Linked DNA regions of Homo sapiens: region 1 is linked to region 2. The links are contacts of gene promoters, found by promoter capture Hi-C in blood cells and fetal thymus (Javierre and others, 2016). All regions are on one chromosome and are shown on one strand. The core of a region is centred on a gene start or on the middle of the fragment in contact, and the rest is flanking DNA. Distances in the headings are between cores, read along the strand shown. Region 1 holds the start of LOC124902031 (a long non-coding RNA gene). Region 2 holds the start of TSNARE1 (t-SNARE domain containing 1).

Region 1 (4,954 bases), core at 47-2,546, 900 kb before region 2:
GGTGTGGTCATAGCTCACTGCAGTCTCAAACTTCTGGGCTAAAGCAATTCTCCTGCCTCAGCCTCTTGAGTAGTTGGGACTATAGATGCATGCCACTGTGCCTGGCTTCAACTGATTTTTGATAAGTGTGCAAGAGCAACTCTATTAAAAAAGCATTAACAGATGTTGCTGCAATAATTGAACAGACACATGCAAAAAATAACCCCTAATCCATACCTCACACCATATGAAAAATTTACTCAAAAAGATCATAGACCCAAAAGTAAGACCTAAACTTCTAAAACTTTCAGAAGAAAATATAGGAGGAAATCTTTATGATCTTGGGTTAGACAAAGATTTCTTAGATGTGACACCAAAAGCACTATATAAAAGAAGAAATGATAAATTTGATTTCATAAAAATTAAAAACTTCTGCTTTTTGAAAGATACGTGAAACATGTTGGAATCAAAATGGAGTCACTGTGTTAAAACTCTGATAAATGGGGCTGGAGGAAGCCTTAAAGGAATGGTTCTCATGCACAAATGCCTGACTGCAAGAACGATCACAAAAGACTCTGCAAAACCCACAACCTTGCACAAAGGCCAATTGCAACCTTACACACACACACACAAATACTTCTGTGAGGTCATCTACCCAGAAAACTGTCTTTCCAACCTAGGACTCACCCCAGCCTTGTTATTGACCCTTGTAGCCAAGAATTATTATTTCAGAACAACTTATATAATCAATCATTTTAATTTTGCCTTTAAAAACTTACCCTTGCCCCAGCCTTGAATAGGCATGTGGTTTACTATGGCACACGTATTACTATTGCAATGCCCATTCCTGAATAAATATCATTTTCTTTTAGAGATCCCCTCTGTCTTTATTTTATTTTTGTTTTCTAGAGAGAGACTTGATCTGTTGCCTAGGCTGGAGTGCAGTGGCACAATCATAGCTCACTCACTGTAGCCTCAAACTCCTGGGCTCAAGAGATCATCCTGCCTCAGCCTCCCAAGTAGCTAGGACTACAGATGCATGCCACCATGTCTGCCTATTTTTTTTTTTTTTATTATAGAGGCAGGTTGTCTCTATATTGCTCAGGCTGGTCTTGAACTCCTGGGCTCAAATGATCCTCCTGCTTCCACCTGCCAAAGTGCTGGGATTACAGGCATGAGCCACTGCACCTGGTCCCCCTCTCTTTTATTTAGATTAAGGGATATGCATTAAAAAATGATAAGCTGCAGACTTGGAGGCAGTATTTGCAAATCACATATCTGATAAAGGACTATCTCCAGAATATAGAAAGAACTCTCAAAACAAAACAAAGCAAAGCGCAAGCGGCCTAAGGAAACACAGGCAGGAGACTGGGACAAGGCATCAGAGGAGGCAGACAGATGGCAAAGAAGCACCTGAAAAGCACTCAACATTTCTCACGAGGGAAACCAACTAACACCACAGTGGGCTATCACTACACATCTACTGAAATAGCTAAAATCAGAGACACTGGAAATACCAAGTGCTGGTGAGGTTGCAGAATAGCTCTGAGCTTCCATACATTGCTGGTGGGAATGCACAGTGGCACAGCCCTCTTGGAAGATAGCCTGGTATTTGCTAATAAAGTCTAATGTACACTTACCAAATGGCTCAGCTACCCGCTCCTAGGCATTCACTCAAGTGAAATGACTACTGACTAAAATATATACACAAACATTTATACTGACTTTATTTATGCTATCTCCACATGGAAATAATCCAAATGTCCCTCACCCTGGGAATGTATAAACAAACCATGTCACACTCACAGTAATGCTACTCAGCAACAAAAGAGGTGAATCACTGATAAACACAAAAACATGGATGCTCCAGGAGGGAAACCAGATTCCAAAAGCTACATTTGGTGTCATTTCATTTTTATGACATTCTGAAAAAGGTGAAACTACAGACAGAGAGCAGGTCAGTGGTTCCCTGGGACTGGGAGTTGGAGAGAGTTCACTACAAAGGGATGGGAGGGAGTGTCTGGGAGATGGAGTTGTCTGGGCATCCTGTACCCACCGCCATATTTTGTTTGTGATGGTGAGTCCATGACTATATACATTTGTCAAAATTTGAAAGCTATACACTAAAAATAGTGAATTTTGTCATCTGTAAATCATACTGTAATCGAAAAGAAAAAAGACACATAAGAACAAAAATGGTCTCTCTGCCCTTATTTCCTTCTGCTCTCCCTTGCTTATTCCACTCCAGTGGTGGGGTGCTCCCACCACCGGGTGCACATCTACTTCTGGACCTTTGTGTGGCCACTCCTTCCGTCTGGGGAATGCCGTTCCTTCAGATGGCTGCCTGGCTCAGTCCCTCACCTGATTTTAGTCTTTGCTCAGTTGTCACCTTCTTGAAGAACTGATTTAAATCCTCACCCCACACTTCCCCCTCCCCACCCTCTCTTTTTTCCGTGTCACTTTTTGCCCTGTAACATCATATCCTTTACTTTCCTGCTTCTGGTCTCACTGGCAGGTCTCCCTACCTGGAATGTAAGGCATGAGGGCAGGGTCTTTATCTCTTTTGTTCCCAGCAGTATCCCCGACACCTAGAACACCTGGTCCACGTAGCAGGTGCTCAGCAAATACTGGCAGAATGAATGGAGAGCTTCATAGCAGGTGATGTATCCAGAGCCACCACCGGCCCTGTCCTGACCTTGGACATGGCATTGTGACAGCCCTCCCACCTCTCCAGGATCCAGTCTGTCCCCTGTAATCATCACACCAGATCCAGCTTCCCAAATGCCTTCTGGTGGACCCTGTGAGGCTCTGCTTCCCTGGCCCCTCTGCCCAGAGCATGTCTCCTTCTCCTCCTTTCTTTCTGTCCCTTTGCCAGGGCTGTAGGAGGATACCCACCAGGCTTCTCCATCCCATAACTGCAGCAGAGGGTTGGAGTTGCCTGAGAAGCTGCATTTCTGCACATCTGAGCTTTGCTGTCTGAAGAGCTCTAGAGCCTCCGTCCTAGATATCACGTGTTCTGACATCTCCTGGCATCTCAGGGCCAGGGCAGCTCTGGGGAGGCCCTCAGACCCTGCTCTCTTGACCTTGAGAGGTCAAGACACAGTTTACCCCTTCTGGAAGCCGCCTCCTTCCTGTGGCCTCTCAGAAAACTAGCCAGTTCCCTGATCCTGGAAAGGGTGACCTTCCAGACAAACCTGGCTGGGGCCCACTCTGGGAGTGGGAGTGAGGATCCCGTTGGAGCTAGAGCCCGGCTTCCCCCAGGCACAGCAGTGGTAACAGCATGGGCCGCAGGCACCAGCGAGGCCTGTACCTTGCCCCTCCAAACCCACATCACAGCCCCTGTGGCTTCCAGAGTTAAATGCATTTTTAAAAATAGAAAAACGATGTGAACACACTATTAGCAAACATCTGCAGAGGAGTACTCTTGGCTTAGCAGCAACAGAAGCTATGGCAGAGAAGGGAGGCCTGACAACATTCAAACGTGGACTGCGAGAGCCGGAAATACCTGAGTTCACAGGCAGGTACCAAGACATTCCTGGAACAGCCACCGTAGGCAGCGTGGATTGCAACAGGGAATCCTGCTCTGAACCCATGGCTTGGCTGTGGGCCCCAGCCCGGGTGGACGAGTGTCTGGACAGCAGAACCTGCTCTGAGTCCCCATAGAGGGGGCGGGCAGGGCTCTGGGCTGGGGGCCAGACAGCTCTGACCTGCGTATCAGACACAGGAAGGTAGAGATGCCCTTTGTGTCTTTCCAGGTTCCTGGGACACTGGGGTTCCCTGGGGACCCTGGAAGGCTGTGGAGGAACCTTCCTTTATTCATGTCCCTTAAATCTCTGCAGAAACTCTGGCTGTGGTATCATCTCAATTCTGCTGAATAGAAGCCGAGGCCCAGAGAAGCAGGTGAACGGTCTGTCCATCCATTCACTGACCCGTTCACACAGCCTGCAGGCACTGTTGGCAACACAGGCCATGGTCCCTCTGGCCCTCACACAGGTGCAGGCTATGTGGGCAAGGCCCTCACTCCAGTTTAAGCTTCCGCCCTCCTGACCTCCTCTCCTCCAACCTGATCCCCACTCCAACCCCTGCAGGCTGCTCCTGGGGGCAGGACCCTCCTTCCTCAGCACAGGGGCCCCTGGATGGCCTGCAGGGAGGCTCCCCTGACAGATGAGGAGGCTGAGTACCGGTGGGGGGGGGTCAGGGGGTCCCTGCTGGGGTTGAGCTGACCTGGAGTTTTGGGACACGGCTGACGACACTCTACCCGTCGGGGTGCAGCTGTATGGCCTTTCAGAACACTGCCTGTCCATGGTTGGGGTGCAGTGCAGACCCACAGGAGCTCACCACTAACTCTGGCCTCACGCCTGTGGGCCGGCCCTGTCTACGGCACTGGCCCTCCCCCGCCCTGGCAGGCCTGACCTCACCCCTGAGGTCACAATGGTTCCAGTGTCCACAGCATCCTTTCTAGGGTCTGTCTGTGTTGTGGGGACAGCAGGTGTGCGTGTGTGCCTGTGTTTGTGGGTGCGTGCTCAGACGTGGGTCCTCAAGGGGTCCCGGGCCTGCCCCTTCCTTCTCTGGGCCTCAGTTGTCTCCTGGGAGACCCGTGGATGATCCGGCTTGGGCCATTTGTTTGCTAAGTCCAGGTCCCTGTGTGGGTGGCAGGTCCCGGGGCTGGAGCTGTGACTTCCCCTCTGGGTCTGAGTGTGAGCACGTGCGATGCGCTGGGCTCCCCTCTGGGCGTGAGAGTGAGCACCTGCGATGTGCTGGGCTCCCCTCTGGGCGTGAGAGTGAGCACCTGCGAGGTGCTGGGCTCCCCTCTGGGCGTGAGAGTGAGCACCTGCCATGTGGTGGGCTCCCCTCTGGGTGCGGGTGCTTGCCGCTTCTGGGATCCTCTCCAGCCGAAGGAACCAGGAGCGGGGAGAGCCTGGGAGCTCAGCCTGTGGGGCTGGGCAGGCTGCCCCGAATCAAATCCAGCCCCCTC
Region 2 (4,817 bases), core at 186-2,685:
AGTCGTCTTGGATTTGCCAGCCTCCCACAGCCACCTGCATTCACGGCCTGTGCTGCTGTGTCCAAACATTTGTTCTACCAGATTTCTGCTGCGGTCCTGTGATGTATGGGGTCGAACGGTATGAAAGCAGCGGTTCAGTCGGGGGAAGCACTCCAGTACTAACAAACTTCAGCTTTCTTTCAACTCAATACTGTGTCCACACTGGGAGTATCCTAAGCAACAATCCCCACCCCTGTCTCACAGGCACTAAAGATAAAACAGAAAACAAGCAGATGAGTGACAATGACAAACAAGAAATACTGTAGGGAGAGCGGTCAGAAAGGTGAGCTCAGACATACCGGAAGCGGAGCTGCCCCCAAGCCAGGAGCGAGCCAGGAACTAAAAGAAGAGGCAAGTGTGCAGCAGAGGAAAGAAAGGGCGCCAGGTGTGGCTGGAAAGGCACCTGGCAGGATGAGGGGCGGAGAAGCACCGGCGGAGCAGCACGCGCGAGGCCCATTTTGAGCCGCACCACACCGCTCACAGAACTTCCTGTGATAAGCAGTGTTCCCTACCCGCGCTGCCCCACACAGCCGCCACCAGACACGTGTGGCTACTGAGTGTCGGACATGTGACCACTGGCACGGAGGACCTGAATCCTTCACGTTAAGGACAATGTAAACAGCCACACATGCCTAGGGGCTACCACACTGGACATGGCAGAGCTTCCAGAGCAGGAGGAGTGCGCCATGAGGCAACAAACACGAGGTCCCTGGAGAGTTTCTGCGGGGGCAGCACAGATCAACATCACCTGAAAGTCCCTGGTGGGGATGTCGCAGGCCCCAGTACCCAGGAAGCACCTTCTTACAACTTGGAGAAGGGACAGAAAGGCATGGAGAGGCAAGCACACAGGAACGGGGTCCCCAGCTCAGGCTCGAAGGCGGGCTCCGCTCGTTGAGCTGCAGGGCACCAACCCTTGCACCCAGCAAGTAGGCGCTGGGGCGCTCCCCGGGACGGCACTGACCTCCAGGCGCAGGCACCGGCTGCCCGGCCCAGAGCCCACCGACCTGGGGTCTGAACAGCGCGCGAGGACCCGCCGAGGGGCTCATGTGCCCGCGGGCCGGTCCCCGAAATGCGGCGCTCTCGCGGGGCTGCGGCTCAGGGTCCCTGGCGCCCCTGGGGTCCACCCCCGGCACGGTCCCGCCCCCTCCCCTCCCCACCGGCGCGGCCCCGCCCCCCGCCCGGCCTCCCGCAAGCCCCATACCACGCCACGCCGCGGCCCCCGCCGGGCTCCGGGCCCCGCGCTGGTCCCCGGCCGCCTCGCCCTCGCCGCCCCACGCCCGGCCCCGGCCAGGCCCCAGCCCCACCGCCGCCGCCTCACCTGGGCCTCGGTGGCTCGCGGACCGCTCCGGGCGCTCACGGCGGGCGAGGCGGGCGGGGCGGGCACCCAAACATCACGTGACGGCCCCTCCCGCCGCCGGCGTGCGCGCCCCCTCCCGCACCAGCCAATGGCCGCCGGTCCCGGACGCGCGCGGGGACTACCCGCCCCAGAGGCCCCGGCGCGGAGCCGGAAGCGGCGCGGACGGCGGTCGGCTGGGCCAAGAGGCCTCTGCGGGTGCGCGCGCGAGTCGGCTGTCCTCACTTGCCTGGTGGTGGGCCTCCGTTTCCCCGTTTCCCCGTTTTGCATATGGGGATGACGGCGAAGGTGGAGGTCACGTGGAGGGCGGCGGCCCGGCGCTGAGGCGCTTCGGGAGCGGGCTCCGCCCAGCCCAGGCCGAGCCCGGACCTCACACGGGCCAAAGCTGGAGCTTCTGCGGGGCTGCGCAGGCGGCGGGTCTCGGCCAGGGCAGGGCCGGGCACCTGCGCGTCTCGCGCTGCGGGGACGGGCGTTGGGCCCCAAGTCAGGCTGCACGGGCTCCGCGTGGGGCCGTGCTCGGCCGGGGGCTGGCAGGCCCCGCGGGGACTCCGGACTCCCAGTGTCACCAACGAGGAAACTGAGTCTCAAGACATCTGAGGGACCTTTGCCCGAGGTCGCAGCCCCTCCCTGGAGGAGCTGAAGTGCAGAGTAGGGAGCCCCTTGCGGAGACCCTCCTGGGACCTCCTTCCGCAGGGGCCTGGGGCGCCTCCCTTTCCCTGCTCTGCCTGCGGGCACTGAGCTCCCGAAAGACTCCAGCCCCTCGCTCTCCCGGTGACCTGCTGGAGAAGACACCTGGGAGGAACCTGCGGACAATGGGTGTGTGTCCTTGGGCCGCCAGGGTCACCTTTCAGCCTGTTTCCCCAGAGGTGAACCAAGAGTCACACCCAAGGCAGGAGAGCAAGAGTGATGAGTCCGCTGCACCTTCTCCGGCAAGCGGAGGTTCTCCCGCCGCCCTCACTCTGTGATGCTTGCTGTGCTTGCGAGGCCTACGCCAAAGCCCTGCGGGCAGCCCTGGGCTCCCGCGGACAGCCTTGCTGAGCTCCTGGGAAGGAGGCGTGCCCTCCCCTTCCCCCACCGCCCCGCTGGCTGGGGTTCTCTGCAGCCCAGGACTGTGCATGTGTGCGCACACGGGTTCTGTGAACACGAACACAAAAGTGTGCTCGTGGACACTGCGTGGTACTGTGTGCACACAGCGCACGTCTGTGAGCTGAGGGAGTGTTCCTGGACACCAGGTGCAAGTGCACAAGTGTGTGTATGCTGGCACAAGTGTGTGCCCAGGCGCAAACATGGGAACGGTAGTATATGGCACAAATGTGTGCACACATGGGTGGGAGGGAAGAGGGGCACATGCCCACCAGCATTCCTGGGCTGGTGCTCAGGCCGGCCTGTCCTGGGCCCACCCACGCTCCTTGCCTTGGTGTATTTCAGTCTCCCCTGGGCTCCCAGGAGGCAGTAGTGTGTGCCTGTCTTGCAGCCTCGCCATGATTTGGACAGGGCTTCACTCTTCGGCTAGGACAGCTAGAGTGCAGGGAAGCCGGCTCCTAACCAGGGAGGATGCCCATGACTGCTGACCCCCCAGCTTCCACTTGAAGGGGAAGGTTCGCCAGGACCAATGCCTGTCTGAGAGCTGTCAGTCTGGACTGAGGATGCCGGGTGCCTGGCACGGTGCCCACCTCCCCTTCCGTGGCTGGCGCTGTCTGTCTGGCCGCCACCTCACTCAGCCTCCTCTGACAGCTCCGTGTTCAGGTGTGCAAAGGAGGGGAAAGTGAAGCCCTTTCCTCCCAGGGCAGACCACCTCCAGGAGCCGCTTTCTTGACCATACAAGGCGTATATGGGGCTGTTTCTGTGCCTGGACACTGCAGGGGGAATGGTCTAGCGTGGGTAGGAACCACCAGAGGAGGGGCTCCGTACCTGTTGGCTCCTCCGAAATCTGGGATGAGCCCGCCTGAGTGCCCCACAGCAAGTCAGGGAAGGTAAACCTCTCCGTGGAAGAGCCAGGAGCCCACTCCCTCAGGCTGAGCCGATGGGGAGGGGGAGGAGGATGCTAAGGGGTCCTCAGGAAGGGATGAGGGAAATAGCCAATAGCTGCCTGGGCCTAGGGCCGGGGCTCCCCTCCCTTCCCTCATCTCTGCCCCTCCCTGGAAGAGGTCATCACATGACCTCGGGCAGCTCTGGGCTCCCTCCTTCCTCCAGAGAAGCAGGACTCCCTGGGAAGAACTCTGGTCCCACCCCTTGGCCAACCAGTGAGACCAACAGGGTGAATAAGTGGGATTGGCCCCAGGACGCTGAGTTCTGTTACCTAAGGGGGTGGGGGTTGCCTGGTCCTCAGCTGGCACCCCCCAAATTGGATCTACCATTCCAGGTCCCAGAGGGAATGTGGGCAACAAGGTTAGGGGGTGGTTCCAAGGCCTTCGGAAGGAACGTTGAGGCAGCACCCACTAAAGCCAACCTCAGAAATGCTCCCTCTCTGAATAGTAGCATGGACTTCTCAGGGTTTAAGCTGAATTTCCAGGTCAGTGTCAACCTATGGCTTTGTCGTGAGTTTCCCCACCCTCCCACCCTTCCTCTCTACCCTCTGCTGCCTGGCTTCAATGTCACCTGCTCAGGAGACCATCCCTTGCTCCCCTGCAGCCCCTGCCTGGACAGGAGAAGGCCTGTGCACCTCCTGCTCTGCTCCCAGCACAGCTTCTGCTCCAGCAAAGCCCACGGGCACTCAGTCCTTGATTCCTGCACCCACCAACCCCGCCGAGCCGCCCTCACTATTACCCAGGCCTCCTTTGTCCCTTAGCAACAGAACCCCAGTTTTGTTCAAGGCATCAATGTAGCCAGCCTCACCAGCAGCTGGGCCAGCTGTGACACTGTTTGCCCAGGGGATGACTGCAGGAGGCACAATCGAGCCTCCTGGTCCTTTGGAAGGGGCAGCTGTGGCCACCCACCTCACTGACAGTCTTCCTTTCTCCTGGCTCCAGCCTGAAGTGTGGGCACGGCATCCCGAGGACAGCAGCCATGTGGCCAGCAAGGGGCAGGGTCCCAAGCTGAGGATGTGAGCAGCTGCCTTGGTGCCCCAATGGCACCGTCAGACTCATCACCATGGGGAGAACAAGCCCCTGCTCCCTTTATGGGTCTGCCTCATTGGATTTCGTCAGGTTTTCTGTAACTGAAGCCAGTGCCACTTCCATTGTAGCTGATTTGGGCTCCTAAGCTCACGGGAGTGGGACATCGTTCTATTAGCTGCGTCCTGCCCCTCAACAACGATGGCTCCTTGCGGGCAGGCCCCAAGGGCGCGTCATGGCCCCACACACCTGGAACACACAGTGCCCCACACCTGGAACAGCCTGGAGGAGCTTGTGAGGCATGAGGGCGCGGGAGCCACACTCTCAGGTGCCTGTTTTCCACATGTCCCCATGCAGCCCGGGCTTCCAAC

The links. Contacts are between HindIII fragments. The CHiCAGO score rates a contact against its expected background, and 5 or more counts as called.
Region 1: a contact is called between a fragment that was not itself captured here and the fragment with the promoter of TSNARE1 in region 2, in 1 of 17 cell types (endothelial precursors). The highest score is 6.3, in endothelial precursors.

What each region holds. Positions count from the first base shown.
Region 1 is chr8:141,502,867-141,507,820 of GRCh38, forward strand. LOC124902031 (a long non-coding RNA gene) reads left to right here and starts at 4,453. Exons shown (of 2, transcript XR_007061132.1): 1 at 4,453-4,954. It also overlaps MROH5. RefSeq lists an enhancer at 4,694-4,954. The HindIII fragment of the contact is 5,426 bases long and covers 1-4,009 here.
Region 2 is chr8:142,401,747-142,406,563 of GRCh38, forward strand. It overlaps TSNARE1 (t-SNARE domain containing 1), which reads right to left and starts at 1,436. Exons shown (of 14, transcript NM_145003.5): 1 at 1,358-1,436. RefSeq lists silencers at 995-1,134, 1,275-1,844, 2,285-2,334 and an enhancer at 1,566-2,341. The HindIII fragment of the contact is 6,879 bases long and covers 1-4,817 here.